Regions from separate parts of the Homo sapiens genome. Here region 1 is linked to region 2. The links are contacts of gene promoters, found by promoter capture Hi-C in blood cells and fetal thymus (Javierre and others, 2016). All regions are on one chromosome and are shown on one strand. The core of a region is centred on a gene start or on the middle of the fragment in contact, and the rest is flanking DNA. Distances in the headings are between cores, read along the strand shown. Region 1 overlaps TMPRSS13 (transmembrane serine protease 13). Region 2 holds the start of FXYD6-AS1 (FXYD6 antisense RNA 1).

What was found. Contacts are between HindIII fragments. The CHiCAGO score rates a contact against its expected background, and 5 or more counts as called.
Region 1: a contact is called between a fragment that was not itself captured here and the fragment with the promoter of FXYD6-AS1 in region 2, in 7 of 17 cell types (total CD8 T cells, M1 macrophages, megakaryocytes and 4 more). The highest score is 6.1, in total CD8 T cells.

Annotation. Positions count from the first base shown.
Region 1 is chr11:117,921,374-117,928,867 of GRCh38, reverse strand. All of the region lies in intron 1 of TMPRSS13 (transmembrane serine protease 13), which reads left to right. Among named protein-coding and RNA genes, the nearest start is that of TMPRSS13, 4.3 kb to the left of the region's middle. The HindIII fragment of the contact is 4,391 bases long and covers 1,894-6,284 here.
Region 2 is chr11:117,830,495-117,838,095 of GRCh38, reverse strand. FXYD6-AS1 (FXYD6 antisense RNA 1) reads right to left here and starts at 4,378. Exons shown (of 3, transcript NR_186291.1): 1 at 4,035-4,378; 2 at 1,594-1,827; 3 at 1-928. The region is part of intron 6 of FXYD6-FXYD2 (FXYD6-FXYD2 readthrough); the gene reads left to right. FXYD6 (FXYD domain containing ion transport regulator 6) reads left to right here. Exons shown (of 8, transcript NM_022003.4): 8 at 1-1,115. The HindIII fragment of the contact is 9,424 bases long and covers 3,133-7,601 here.

The DNA of each region.
Region 1 (7,494 bases), core at 2,840-5,339, 91 kb before region 2:
AAACCCCTCACTACACTCCTAAACCTTCCCAGAAAACTGTGACTTTCTGGGTGCATTCAAGATTTTCAAGGGGATGTTTCAACCTCCGTTGGTCACTTCTTTTTGGACTTAATAACTTTCATGCTTGGGAAGTGCTTCTTGATGTTTAACCACAAGTCCTGCTACCACTCAACTTCCTTTCTTCTGCTGCTCTTGGGGTAGGAGAAAGCAGCTGGCCTGTCCTCTGTGGGAAAGCCAGTCATACACACATGAAGGCTTCCAAAGATCTTGTTCTGCTGTGCCTCCACTTTCTTTTCCTCCAGGAAATCCCTTTTGTGCTCTCATTTCTCCTTTAGGTCTTGTTTTCTGCCCCCTCCAAATTCTCTGTACCTTACCGACATGGTAGAGCCTGGGACTCTGGGAAGAATGGGCTAGCACTGGGTTTGGGAAAGATCAGCTCATCCTATGTTTTGGCTTATAGTTGGCTTGTGGTCCATTCTGCACCCCCAATGTGTTTCTGCAAACTTTACCATCATTTTTTTCCCACCATTCTTCCAGCCCCCTCTTGACTTTTCTTTCCCAGGCTGCCTCCCTTGCCCTCTGCTCTGGGCTCCTTCGTTCATGTCTCTACCTCACCAAAGTCACTTGGCCCTAGGCCTTGGGGGGTTATCAGAGCCTCTTACTGTTGAGCAGTAAGGGGGGTACACAAGGGCATGCAGAAGGTGAACCCTTAGTCACAGCCATGGGGCATCCTCCTTGGCAATATGCTGGGAGCCTAAACTAGATGGTCCCTAAACCCAAGAGTGAGAAGGGCTGAGCTATCCGGAGGGTGGCCATGCTCCCACTGGAGATGGATAGTCCATCCCTGAGACAGGGTGATGGGGCGATATCTTCCCAGGAAGCTCATCTCTTCAGAGTCAGGGATCAACATGAAGGCTGCTGGAGGGATACAGGACAGAGAACAGACTTCTTTGAGGAACTCCCAATTAATCTATGAATTAAGTGTCAAATATTATGATAGGTGCCATATTCATTCTGAAAAAAAGATTGTCCAAACTTACCTTGGAATGGAAGAATGGAATCATTACATTCTTATTTAAGGTTCTTAACTTCACTCCCCTATTTAAGATGGAACTCTGAGAGAGTGAGCCTATAGTTGGGGCTCGTATTCCCATCTGCAGCAGGTTTCTTAACCTTGATTAAATAGGAGTGGTCTGGGAGAAGCTGGTCACCTGAGCTTGTGCCTTCTCCTTGAGGGCTTTATTGCAGAGAGATGCATTGTGATTTCTGTCCCTCAACTCCAAAATGTCGTGAGGAAGATGGTGGCCAGTGGGCTTGAGCCTGATGGCACTCCTCTGTCAGCTGCTGGATCTTCAGAGGGATCTTGGAAAAGAGGTGGAGAAGGGTCTCAGTTTCTCATATTCAAAAGAAAGTTGCATGTCGTGGTGGACAGAGAACTGACCATGTTCCCCGTCAGCTTTGGGCAAGCCACTTCACCTTTCTGTACCTTAGTTTCTTCATCTGTAAAATGGAATAATAATACTACTCTCAAAAGAAGAATGTTGGACAAACTAAATTTAACAGAGTTTAATTGAGCAAAGAACAATTCTCAAATGGAGCAGTCCCCCGAAGGAGAATAGATTCAGAGAGATTCCCACACAGCTGCGTGGTCGGAGAGGATTTATGGACAGAAAAAGGCAAGCAGTGTATGGAAAAAGGAAGTGAGGTACAGAAATAGCCTTATTTGAACACTGTTTGAACAGTTGGCTGCCTTTGATTGTGCAAAATTGGTGATTGTTAACAAGAGTAGTTTACAGTCTGTTTACACGTCCAGTTGAGTTATAGTTCATTATGTACAGAGAAACCTTTTGATCCGAACTTAAAATATGTAAGGAGGCAGCTTTAGGCTAAGCTTAATTTAATAATACCTACCTCAAGGAGTCTCAAAATAGTGTCCTTCCCATAGTAAGGCTCATTTAGAATAGCATCTGGCATAGAGAGATAGAGATAGATAGATAGAGATGGAGTCAGAGAATGTTGAAATTTATCATCACTGCCTAGAATTTGGGGTGGGCTCCTATAAATTTGGACAAACATCTTCTTCTACCTGTGCCTCAGCTTCCCCACCAAAGAAGAGGGTTGGACACATTCCCCCCTGAGGCTCCTTTCTGGCTCCCTGACAGTCTGGAATTACATAGAACGGGGATGACAGGTGCGCCACACCAGATTTGTTCTTGACAATGCGTATTTTGTGCTTTTTCAATTCTCATTTTTAATTCTCAGAGCAGTGCAATGCTTATTAAAGAAAGACTGAATTAGACCCATTGATGAAGCAACATTCCTTTGTGGAGTGGATTTTCTTATACTGGGCCTTCTTCAAGTGGAACAGGTTCCAAATTAGCCCAAGGCCACAGGTGCTAGGGATTGGTGAGAACCGTCTGGGGGCCCACCGCTGGTCCAGGATAAGGCACCCTTTCCAGAGGAGCTGGGCAGTTCCTGAGATGGCTCACCCGCGGGTCAAGTCACTCTGCCATGCCGTGTCCCAGCCCCATCCCAGCCCCAGGCACCCCAAGGACCCTGGCACCTGCCCTATGCCCCTGCAGGTGTGTAGCCCTCACCTCGTCCTCCAAGGACCCTGGCACCTGCCCTATGCCTCTGCAGGTGTGCATCCCTCACCTCGTCCTCCAAGGACCCTGGCACCTGCCCTATGCCCCTGCAGGTGTGTAGCCCTCACCTCGTCCTCCAAGGACCCTGGCACCTGCCCTATGCCTCTGCAGGTGTGCATCCCTCACCTCGTCCTCCAAGGACCCTGGCACCTGCCCTATGCCCCTGCAGGTGTGCAGCCTTCACCTCGTCCTCCAAGGACCCTGGTACCTGCCCTGTGCCCCTGCAGGTGTGCAGCCCTCACCTTGTCCTCTGTTTCATGTTGTCATTGGTGAGGAGCAGACTTCCTTTGGCACAGCCACCTCGATTTCCCCTGCATTGTCCCCTGAGACTTGGCAGATGTGAGCGTAAGCGTGCGGGAGTGTGTGTATTGGGCCCTGGGCTGGGGAGCTGGGTGGGAAGGACAACTGATGTAACAATGGCCACTTAGCTTAAGTGTCTTGTTTTGGCAGAACAGATTCCTCTTGGTATAGCAACAACAAGGGTGGATGTGCCTGGCCAAGTGGGCAGGGCACTGGTGGTGCAGGCATGAGGGAAGCCACCACAGGGAACCCTGGCTTTAGCCGTCAAGTGGAGGCCTTGACAGCACCAGATGGGGGTTGGTTTCCCTAGGAGGGAAGCAATACCCAAAACTTTAGAGGGGCCCCCATTATGTACCAGCCCTGAGTGTGTCACTACCCTAGGACTGGCAGCAAGAGAAGGCACAGACACAGGGAAACATTGAGGCAGCAAGTTCCTGGGCAATCAAACATTATTTGCTGGGCAATAGTGGGCACTCCATGTTCTTTACAGCATTTGATAAATGAATGAATGAATGAGTGAATGAACGAATGAATGAACAAGGAGGCGTCTTGATTCTGGTCTAACAGGGATTCCTTGAGCTTTTTCATGTGCACAGGAGGCATCGGAAACTAGAAGGGACTTCAGCACTTACTCTGGCCAGTCCCTTTCAAGTTCGTTGTAGCAGCTGCCTCTTTTGTTCAAATGAATGTTATGTTGACTCCGCTGTATGAAACTGAAAGGTCGGTCTTCTCTGTTGAGGTGGGGTAAGGGCTCAGAGCCCACCACAGTCCCCACCAGCTGGTCTGCAAGGCACCTCCACGGAAACTGAAATGCTCTGTGGAACCCTGTTTGAAAACTGCTGATTGTCCAACACCCTTAATTTATTGAAGAGGGAGCTGAGGCCCAGAGAAGGATGTGACTGTCCCCAAGGTCACACGGCGGCCTAGGAGCAGAAGCGAGGCTCCCCGTGCCCCCCACCCCCAGGGCGAGGCAGACCCTGCAGCTCTGGCCCCTTCCAGAGTTCAGTCTGCCTCAAGGGCTGACCCAAGTCCCTGAGCTGTATACTGCGTGTGTGCTGGAGATGCTGGTGCTGGGTGAGGAGGTGGTGGGGAAGATGCCTGTGTGCTGAGGAGAGCCTGTATTTGTGGGGTTTCTCTGGGTTCGGGGAGGGGGAGAGTAGGAAAGGGCCTTGGGAACCTGGAGGTACAGTGAAGCCTGGGTCTAGCCGTGAGAAAGGGAAAAAAGTCACCCAGTCCAGCCGGGCCCTCGCTGGGAAGGGTTCAGGCCTCCCCTGCCACAACCCCAGGGCTCCCCAGGTTCCCAACAGGCAAGGAGGGTTTTTAGGCTCTGTCAAAGGGAGATCCTGATCTTTCTCAGTGCCGCCAGTGCTTCCAGAAGGGTTTAGTGAGGGGTTTTTCTTCCTGCCTAGCCCAGAGTGCTGGGTTGTTGGCCCATGGTCTGCCCGTGCCCACCCTATGGGCGCCCTTGATGCCCAGGGTCACTGGAAAAGGGACGCTGCCACGGGGGCCTCTGTCTGGGAAGGGTCCTTTCTCATGGAGGCTGGTAAGGGACAGAGAGGGGAAGAGCAGAGTGTTGTGTAACAGCCCAAGGATGGGGGCCAGAAGATCATGGTTCTAGAATTGGCACCGTCCCCACCTGGCTGTGTGTCCGTGAGCAAGTCACACAGCCTTTCTGGGCCTTCATCGCCTCAACAATAGTATAAAGGGCTTGGGTAGGTTTTCTTTTCTTTTCTTTTCTTTTCTTTGAGATGGGGTCTTGCTATGTTGCCTAGGTTGGTCTTCAGCTTCTGGCCTCAAGCCATTTTCCCACCTCAGCCTCCCAAGTAGCTGGGACTACAGGCCGGCGCCACCACGCCCAGCTTAGAGGGTTTTCAGAATCTTTGCAACTCTGACAGCCTGTGATATGCCCAACCCTGGGTGGTAGCTTTACGAAGGGATGGCCCAGGGCTGAGGAGGGAGGCCCAATTGGCTTAAACTGGACTGAAACGGGCCCTGATGCACCCGCCCTCAGGCCATGAAGCAGCTACTGCTCCCTGCTGGACATTCTTCAGGACTAGAAGGAGAGCTTTTTTTTTTTTTTTTTTAATTATTATACTTTAAGTTCTAGGGTACATGTGCACAACGTGCAGGTTTGTTACATATGTATACATGTGCCGTGTTGGTGTGCTGCACCCATTAACTCGTCCTTTACATTAGGTATTTCTCCTAATGCTATCCCTCCCCCGTCTCCCCACTCCCCGACAGGCCCTGGTGTGTGATGTTCCCCATCCTGTGTCCAAGTGTTCTCATTGTTCAATTGCGGGAGAGCTTTTTATAGGGTGGTTCACACTGCAAGCCCAGGCTCTGGGGGACCTGAAGTGCATATTTCCCAAGTTCAGGCTGCTGCTTATGGCTGAAGAACTCTCATTATGCAGAGCCTGGGGCTCGATCCACAGCAGCAGCTCCATAACCACTGAGATGAAGCAACCATGAGCCCACATCACTCAGGCCCCCTCTCTCACTGGCTGGGCCCCCAGAAGGTCCAGGAGAGGACAAGAGCTGGACATACTCAGGGGCTGGCTAACTTACTACCATCCCCACCAGGTAACGGCCCAAGGGGCAGAGTCTGCAACTGGAAACCAGAAAAACATCCCATTCGCCTCAGGGGGGATCTAACCCTGGGAGCTGTGGTGTCGAGACCCCTGGGCTGGAAGTGGGGGGCCTTGGGTTTAGTCCCTCCTCTGCTGTGAGATGGGCCTGAACAACTTTGGGCAAAGCACACAAATGTTTTGGGCCTCTACCTCTCAGTCTGTAAAGTGGGAGTAAAAATGCTTATAGACTTCTGTCCAGGGACAGGCTTTGGAAAGACTCCCAGAGCCAGGGGCTGCTCCTTTTAGCCCTCCCTGGCTTGTCCCTTACCGCTTTCCTGCGGACCCCTGCCCTGCCTTCCTGCCCCAACACGTCTGGAGGGCCCTGAACAAGCCTTGGGTGAGGACCCTTGGGAGCTGCAGAGGCATAGCCAGGTGGTAGCAGTGACAGCCTGGGGTGTGGGCCTGTTCCATGTCATGGTAAGGGCTTACAATTGTGTTACTGCAGGGGGTAACCTCAGAGACTACCCCACGGGTAGGTGGGGAGGAGAGGCATGGTCAGGAAAGAATGGTTGGCAAGGTTAGGCCAGGGATGTGGCTCAGAGTTGACCACACTCCCCTGCTCCACCCTGTGCACCTGCCCCTGAGCAGGCTGAGAAGCCTTTGGTCTGCAGGCAGGTTGTGGAGACACCAGGACACATCAAGGAGTTGGTCATTTCACTTCCACTTCTGAGTCTTCGGCTCACTGCCAAAGGCCAGGATTTGGGAAGCTTGGGTTCTGGTCCTGGTTCTGCCCCTTGTAGCTTGGGACCTTGGATAAGAAGTCTCGGCTGGGCGCGGTGGCTCACGCCTGTAATCCCAGCACTTTGGGAGGCTGAGGCGGGCGCAAGATCAAGAGATCGAGACCATCCTGGCCAACATGGTGAAACCCCATCTCTATTAAAAATACAAAAATTAGCTGGGCACAGTGGCGCGTGCCTGTAGTCCCAGGTACTCAGGAGGCTGAGGAAGGAGAATCACTTGAACCCGGGAGGTGGAGGTTGCAGTGAGCCGAGATCACGCCACTGTACTCCAGCCTGGCGACAGAGTGAGACTCTGTCTCAAAGCAAACAAACAACAAACAAACAAGTAGTCTCCTCCCCTTCCTATTCCCCAGCTGCTGAAGGCCTCTACTCTGAGGGTGAGATCAGGCCAGCGGTGGGAGGCTAGAGTCTCAGCAGTTGTTCTCCAAGAATTGGGGAAAAGAAATGAGTTAGTGCTATAACAGGTTAGGTATCCAGAAGAACTTCCAGCAGCGTGGGGCAGCAGGCCGTGAAGTGCCTAAAGAAGGTTGGTGTGGAATCTCTTACTCAGATGATCCCTGAAGATGAGAACTCTTCTTGATGTCTGGGAGGGTTTGGGTTGAGGGTCAGAGTCAGGGGGTGGAGCGGGGACCTCACTCTGGATGCTGCTCTCCTCTGGTCTGGGGGCTGCCCTTCCATCCTGATGTCCCTGTTGGGACTTGTAGTTCTCTTCATGGGCAGTTCTTCTTCAGGTCTTGAGGCTCCAGAACTCTCCTCTTGCCCTGGTCTTGGGGTCCAGCCACTTTCCACCTGCCTCCCAGGCTCTGACAGCAGAGCACTTGCTCTACCCAGACCAGAGCTAGATACCCCCAGACCCAGGGCCTGCAGAGACTCCATCCCACTTTCGGATGTGTCGCCCTTTCTGCAGTTCTTGGCTTTCCACCAATGCCCCCTCCCCACCAGTTCCCTGTCTGGTCTGACTCCCTTCTCCTGTTCCAGCTTTACAGCTTTCCCCAGCTCCCTCCCCCCACCTGCCCACCCATTTTCCTCTGGGCCTCTTCAAGATGGGGCAGCTGGGGCTGGATGGGAGGGTTCTGTTCAGGTAGAGACAGCCTGAGCTGCCTGGGAATGAGACGACTGTGCTAGAGTTCCTAAAGACCACCAGCTCATTCAGGGGGTGAGGTGGGCTGTTTCGTCTCT
Region 2 (7,601 bases), core at 3,129-5,628:
AGCCTGCGGTCCTGCCCACCTCCCGTGATGTGTGTGTGTGTGTGTGTGTGTGTGACTGTGTGTGTTTGCTAACTGTGGTCTTTGTGGCTACTTGTTTGTGGATGGTATTGTGTTTGTTAGTGAACTGTGGACTCGCTTTCCCAGGCAGGGGCTGAGCCACATGGCCATCTGCTCCTCCCTGCCCCCGTGGCCCTCCATCACCTTCTGCTCCTAGGAGGCTGCTTGTTGCCCGAGACCAGCCCCCTCCCCTGATTTAGGGATGCGTAGGGTAAGAGCACGGGCAGTGGTCTTCAGTCGTCTTGGGACCTGGGAAGGTTTGCAGCACTTTGTCATCATTCTTCATGGACTCCTTTCACTCCTTTAACAAAAACCTTGCTTCCTTATCCCACCTGATCCCAGTCTGAAGGTCTCTTAGCAACTGGAGATACAAAGCAAGGAGCTGGTGAGCCCAGCGTTGACGTCAGGCAGGCTATGCCCTTCCGTGGTTAATTTCTTCCCAGGGGCTTCCACGAGGAGTCCCCATCTGCCCCGCCCCTTCACAGAGCGCCCGGGGATTCCAGGCCCAGGGCTTCTACTCTGCCCCTGGGGAATGTGTCCCCTGCATATCTTCTCAGCAATAACTCCATGGGCTCTGGGACCCTACCCCTTCCAACCTTCCCTGCTTCTGAGACTTCAATCTACAGCCCAGCTCATCCAGATGCAGACTACAGTCCCTGCAATTGGGTCTCTGGCAGGCAATAGTTGAAGGACTCCTGTTCCGTTGGGGCCAGCACACCGGGATGGATGGAGGGAGAGCAGAGGCCTTTGCTTCTCTGCCTACGTCCCCTTAGATGGGCAGCAGAGGCAACTCCCGCATCCTTTGCTCTGCCTGTCAGTGGTCAGAGCGGTGAGCGAGGTGGGTTGGAGACTCAGCAGGCTCCGTGCAGCCCTTGGGAACAGTGAGAGGTTGAAGGTCATAACGAGAGTGGGAACTCAACCCAGATCCCGCCCCTCCTGTCCTCTGTGTTCCCGCGGAAACCAACCAAACCGTGCGCTGTGACCCATTGCTGTTCTCTGTATCGTGATCTATCCTCAACAACAACAGAAAAAAGGAATAAAATATCCTTTGTTTCCTAGTGGCTCGGAGGTGCTTTCCTTTCTGTGAAAGAACTTGAGTGTTTGTAGGGTCTGTGGAACTTAAAGGGCTAGAGGGAGTCCGTCCATGGTCAGAGGGAAGAGGAAGGACTGGATAGCCACCCAGGCAGGCACAGAGCCCCGTCAGCTGCTGTCACTGTTGCCTCCTCCCCGCTTCTCTTCCCTCCTTTCCTTTTCTTCCTTCACTTTCCTCTCCTCCTGCTCAGCCCTTCGTCCCGCACCTTCCCGCCATTTCTATTCCTCCCTCCCTCTCTCCCGCCTTCCCAGGCCACTGGGCTCAAGCCACATCCCATAGCAGGACCTGTACATTGCACACTGTCTTGGAGCAAAAAAGGGAGTCACAATGGCTTCTCCAAGTACTCAGTGGCCTGGAGTAAAACATCCTAACATTTCTCTTTGGTCAGTTCTGGGGCCACTACCTAAGGACTTGTAAAGAGAGCCAGGGGTGGTGACTCATACCTGTAATTCCAGCAACTTGGGAGCCTAAAGCAGGAGAATTGCTTGAGGCCAGGAGTTCAAGACCAGCTGGGCAACATGGTGAAATCTTAGCTGGGCATGGTGGCTCGCACCTGTTGTCACAGCTACTCGGCAGGCTGAGGCAGGAGGATTGCTTGAACCCTGGAGTTCCAGGTTGCAGTGAACCGTGATTGCACCACTGCACTCCAGCCTGGGCAACAGAATGAGACCTTGTCTCTAAAAAGAAAAAAGGAAGGAAGGGATCAAGGGAGTGACAGGGTGGGTGACGTGGATTGTGAAATACCCCTCCTCTGTGGAGCCTCCCTGGGCATTAGGTAGAATCGAATCCCTTTTTTTTTTTTTTTTTTTTTTTGAGATGGAGTTTTGCTCTTGTCGCCCAGGCTGGAGTGCAGTGGCGTTATCTTGGCCCACTGCAACCTCTGCCTTCTGAGTTCAAGCGATTCTCCTGCCTCAGCCTCCTGAGCAGCTGAGATTACAGGTGCCTTCCACCATACCCGGCTAATTTTTATATTTTTAGTAGAGACGGGATTTCTTCATGTTGTCCAAGCTGGTCTCGAACTTTTGGCCTCAAGTGATCTGCCTGCCTCAGCCTCCCAAATTGTTGGGATTAGAGGCGTGAGCCACAGCGCCCAGCCGAATCCCTTTCTTGTGCCCCAATCACACTTGTTTGCTGCCTTTATATTCACACTTCATACTTGGCATCCAGACTGTAGAGACCAGGCAGGTAATGCCAATATGTGAATCTGCTGGAGTGACGATGGGGCATGGCACCTGCAGTCACCTACGGTGTCCTCCCAAAGACACTCTGACTCAACTTTCTAAAAACCACTGTTGGCCAAACCAACACAGATGTGGGCAGATTCTGCGTGGAGGTTGCCTGTGTGCAGCTTCTGCCTCTAGTGTTTTGTGTCTTTATTGATACAATTCCTGGAGGGCAAGGACTGTGCCTGCTCTACAGAAGCCTGGAACATCTTAGGGTCTTGAAAAAAGAATCGACCCCTGGAACGTCTTAATATCTTCCATCTTGAAGCCAGCACTTAAGGAGCGGGACCCTCTGGGCCCACCTCCTTCCAGCCCCAACTTCTAAGACCCCAGTGAACCTGGCACCTGAAGCTATAGCAGGAGACAGAAGTCAGTGCTCCTTGTGGTTTCGATGGGCCTGGGAACCACCACCTTCCCTGCCCAGTGGCCACACAGGCCCTGAGTCCGCCTGGATTCCGCAAGTTGTTTAGAACCGAAGAACCGCACAGATCCGCTTGCTCGGTGCCTTCTCTACGTGTGCTCTTGCTTCTGCCTTCGGTCCCCCAGGCCTTTGGAAAGACACAGGCTTATGGTAGAGCTCAAGCTCAACCTGTCAACCCAGTGATCATGGCGATTAAAAACTATCTGGTCACAGCAAGACCTGGTAAATGAGCTTATTGTTCGGGAACACTCGTGATACATCAGGGAATTGACAGGCCTTGCAGAAATTTCATAGCGAGGCCAGGCTGAGATCCCTAGAGGCCCTAGACATGCAAAGCTTTGTGTGTGCCGCCCCCCATACGTTAGTAAAAACAGAACATTATACTTCGACATAGGAATAAGGAAGTCCAATGAGGAGGTTCTAATTTTTCTCATAATAATTATGTTAAGAGTAAGGAATGATGGTCAGCATCTCTAGCACATCATCTACAAATGGTTATCCTTACTTTGCCCGCCTCTAAGCACTCACTTAGTTTTCCTCCTAGTAATCCAGCTATATTCTGAGATTGGTCAGAGATACAATCGTCCTGGTCCAGGTTACACAGCTGGGGGATGGAGGAGCTAGGACTTGACCCCGGGCTGTCTGTCCATAGTGCTTGTCAGCACATGGCCTAGCCTCCTTCAGCAGGCAGATGCTCAGAAGAAGGGACAGTGATCAGATGGCTCCCAAGACTGCACCTGGAGCATGGCTGCCCCTTCAAGACATAAACTAGCTGGACCATGCTCCAAGGAGCCTCCTGTGGGAGTCTAATGGTCTGGAAACAAGACACATGAAGAACAATCGAAGAAATGATGGTCAAAATGGTAATAATTAAAAAAAATGAGCAGCTGAAGTTTATGGAGCACTTACTATGTGCTTGTTTGAGGACTTCACACAGATGAGCTGGATCAGAACTCAGAGTGCTATATATCTCCATGAGGAGGACCAGGAGTGTCCACTCAGCCTCCAGGCATGTGGCACTGGTTTGTAGCTGTGATTTGGTTTAATGAGGCAATGTAGCTTGACTGAATAAGAAGGACAGCTGCCATGCTGTGTCATTTCCCAGAAGGGAATCCCAAGTTCCCTGTCTCAGTAACCTCAGGTGTCCCACACCTTTTGCCTCCCAGTGACTCCCTCCACCCCCCATTCCATTTCGAAGATCTCCATGTCTCTTTGCCTGGAGGTTTTCTGCGTTACTTACCCCTGCTGTAGGAATAGGTCAGTCTGCCTTCTGGGACCCCAGGTGCTGTGGCCCTCCTACCTCTCTGTTTTTTGTTTTTTGTTTTTTTTTTGCAAGATGTAGATTAGAACTTGCCAAATTGTTCTTGGAAGAGAGTCAGAGGCAGAGTACAAGCTGTAGGGAGCGGTGTGAGGGGAGTGCCAGGCGAAGCACACTCCAAGGTCACCGGGCTGTTGGCCCCTTCCTCTGGGAGGAGGGCCTTACCTTGCTTGGAATCATGGGCTTGGCGGGGAGGCTGGGCAAAGCAGGGGTGGGAGAGCACTCCAGCTCTGTCTGGTTCACCCCACCTTGTTCCTGGCTGCTCTGCCTCACCCTGGGCCCAGCGAGAGAAAGGTCAGGTGTGTTTGCCTGAGCCAGGGGAGGAGCTTTGGAAAAACCTGTCTCCAGGCCACAGAGAAGGAATGGCCACCTCTCTCCATTAGTGTGATTTATTGCTGTCACAGCTGAGCTCCAGGGGGGCAGACTCAGCCGGCTCAAGCCAACCAGCTGTTGATCTGATGGGGCCAGCCCAGCCCCGGGCCTGGTTGCACAACAGTGGGGCACCTGCCAAGGCAATGATGGCAGAGCAGGTGATGCTGTGATCGCATGTCCTGAAGGACCTGGATGGCAGGGACTGGAGGGGGTGGGCCCCCCTGCACTATCCAGAAGAACGGTTTCCTACCTCTGAGCTGGGCTTGGAGGCAGTCTGGTAGAGCCTGAGGCTCAGAACATCCCCGAGGTCCCTTCTGCTCTAACAGTGTGAGCTTGGAAAGACCCCAGCCTCTCTGTCAGTTTCCTTTTCTGAATAATCAAGTCCTTCCTAGCTTTGGGGTAAGCTGGGCCTCCTGCTCACTGTGTAACCCTGGAAAAGCCACTTAAGCCTCAGTTTCATCACCTATAAAATAAATGCATCAAGATGTTTTCTGTTATCTCACAGGGTCAAAGTGATACAATGGACATCGAAGCACCGTGACAATTCTCCATGTAGCCATTATGCTATAAATGTTGGCATCACTATCCATTTCCTTGTCTCCTCATTCTCTGATGGCCGGGTTCCTCTTGTCTCTGTTAGACTTGGGTTCATGTTCTGACCTGTTTGCAGACCACCTGCAGTGTCCTCTGTAAAATGGGCATCTCACAGCCTGCCTGGCTGAATTGTTGGGAGGCTCTAAGCAGCTCTTTGGAACCACTGAGACCCTGGAATAGGGTGGAATTGCTGCCAAGTGTGGAGAGTGGGCACCAGGCTCAGTGCAGGTACAAACGTTTAACAGCTTACCCGACCTGAGGCCTCAAGGAGGCCAGGGACTTGGCAATCTGTGCTATAAATGAAGAGAATGGTGACACGGCCACATGCTGGCCATTCAAGCCATGTCAGTGGCATCCGGAAGGTGGTGGAGGGAAGGTAAGAGTAACCAGGGGTGGGCTTGCTCCGCGAGGTCTTCCCGGAGGTGGCGAGCCTCTCCCAGAGGTGAGAGGGAGTTTGGTTACTGGGAGGAGAAAACCAAGAAAAGCTGGAGAGGAATGGGCTCTGTTGTGGTTCAAGCCTGGATGTGAGTTCTGAGAACAGTCAAGAATGCATTTCTCTCCAAGGCATTCACTGTGGGGGAGGTGGGTCAAATGGGTTTGCCCTTGTCACCAGCTGGTGACCTTGACTCTCAGAGTACATTGCCCTTTGGCAGTTCTCAGAACCTCTGTGCACCATGGCTCAGGCCTTCTTGAAGCCAACACTTAAGGAATGGACCCTCTGGGGCCCACCTCCTTCCAGCCCTGCCTTATAAGACCCCAGGGACCTGGCACCTGCAACCATAGCAGGAGGCAGGAGCCAGCGTTCCTCAGGATTCAGGACCTCTGAGTGGGACAAATGGGGCTTGGGAACTGCCACTTTCCCTGCCCAGTGGCCATACGGGTTATGCAGCTGAGGACTGACTTGGGCCTGGGGTCATGGCTTTCTAGGTGCTTCTGGCTTCTGCTTCATTGGAGCCCCTTTCCAGCTGCAAGCCAACACCAGGAGGAACTGATCTGGGGACCTGGAGTTCAAGGCTGTAAACTCCCACAAAGGCCAGAGCTGGCGGAGCTGGAGAACCCCATTCTGGGAAGCTGGTGGTGAGGGCCTCTGCCTTTGATCACCAGGAAAACAGAGGTCAGCTGGATTCCAGCCTATTTCCTCCCTGCCCCACCAACCCAGCAACGACCACCCCAAATGACTGCCCTGAGACTTAGGAGTCAGGAGACAAAAGGGAGGCCTGCCTAGGGGAGACAGGGGAGATGGAGGCCTCGCCACTGAGGGCACGGTCCCATCAGCTGTGACAGTGCTGACGCATCCAGGAGTGGGCACTGCCTCTACCTCCCAACATCTCCCAGAGCTCTGGGTCTTGCAGAGAACAGGAGAGCACAGCTGGATGCTCCTTTGTCTCCATCCTGGAACCATTAGACAAAGGAGGTTTCTTGGTTTTGTGTGGAGAAGAAAGGGAGGCTGGAGATGCAGGGTGAGTTGTGGCCAGCAGGATCATACCAGGGCAGGGTGCTCCCAGAGGCCTGCTTTAGAGATCACCGCAACTGGGGACTGAGCCAAGGGAAGGGATTGCTGTGAGTGTTCTTGTCTCCTGGGGGGCTCAGTTCGGAGTAAGGAAAACACAGCCATCAGTTTTTAGGACCTTCTCTGGCCAAACGCTTGACCTACCTTGCCTCTGTTCCCACAACAATACTGCAAGGTAGGTGTTATTACCCTATTTTACAGGTGGGAGGAGACCCAGAGGGGTGCCCTTGCCCAGGGTCAGGCAGTCCTCAGCAAAGTCTCAGGATGAAAGGGGATTTATGCATGGGTGTGTCTGGCCCTCAGGGTGCCTTGCGTGGTGTCTAGGAGGAGAGACCCTCCTGAACTGAGCTGCTCTCAGGAACATGGGCCACAGGTGGAAGGGCCGCAACCTCTCTGCAGGAGAGCAGGTGTCTCAGAGAGGGGTTCCCTGTCCCCAGTGCTAGCTAGGACCCATGACCTGAGCTAGCTGGGGGAGGACAGGAAGGAAGTCTGAGAAGGACTTAAACATGAGTGAAGCGAGAGGGGTGGGACCTGCTTGACTTAACAAATGCCTGGGCTTCCCCCAAAGAACAAACAGGACAATTTCTGAAAATTGCTGCTGGGCTGGAGAAGGAAGGGGAGGTTAGGGGAGTGGGGGGATGGGGTGCAAGAGGAGGGAGAGAGAACCCCGAGAGGGACTCTGGGGGAGCTGTCAGCAAGGTGAGGGTTGCTGCCTCTGTGAGGGCAAATCGGGTCTTGTGACTCCTCACAGGGCAGGCGACAGCATGGAAGGAGGCTGCCTGAGGCAAGTCCTAGGTCTGCCTGCAGCATGGGAGAAGTGATTTCCCCTCTATCCTGTCCCCATCTTTGCCTGATTTTTGCCTGGGACTGATTCATTCATTTAATAAAACTGGGTCCCACGATGCACTGTTCCAGGCATGGGGGAATGAACAAACAAACAAAAATCCTTGCTCTCCTGGTGCTTACATTTTAGTTGGGAGAGGGACAAACAAGATAAGGGAAATACATACCTT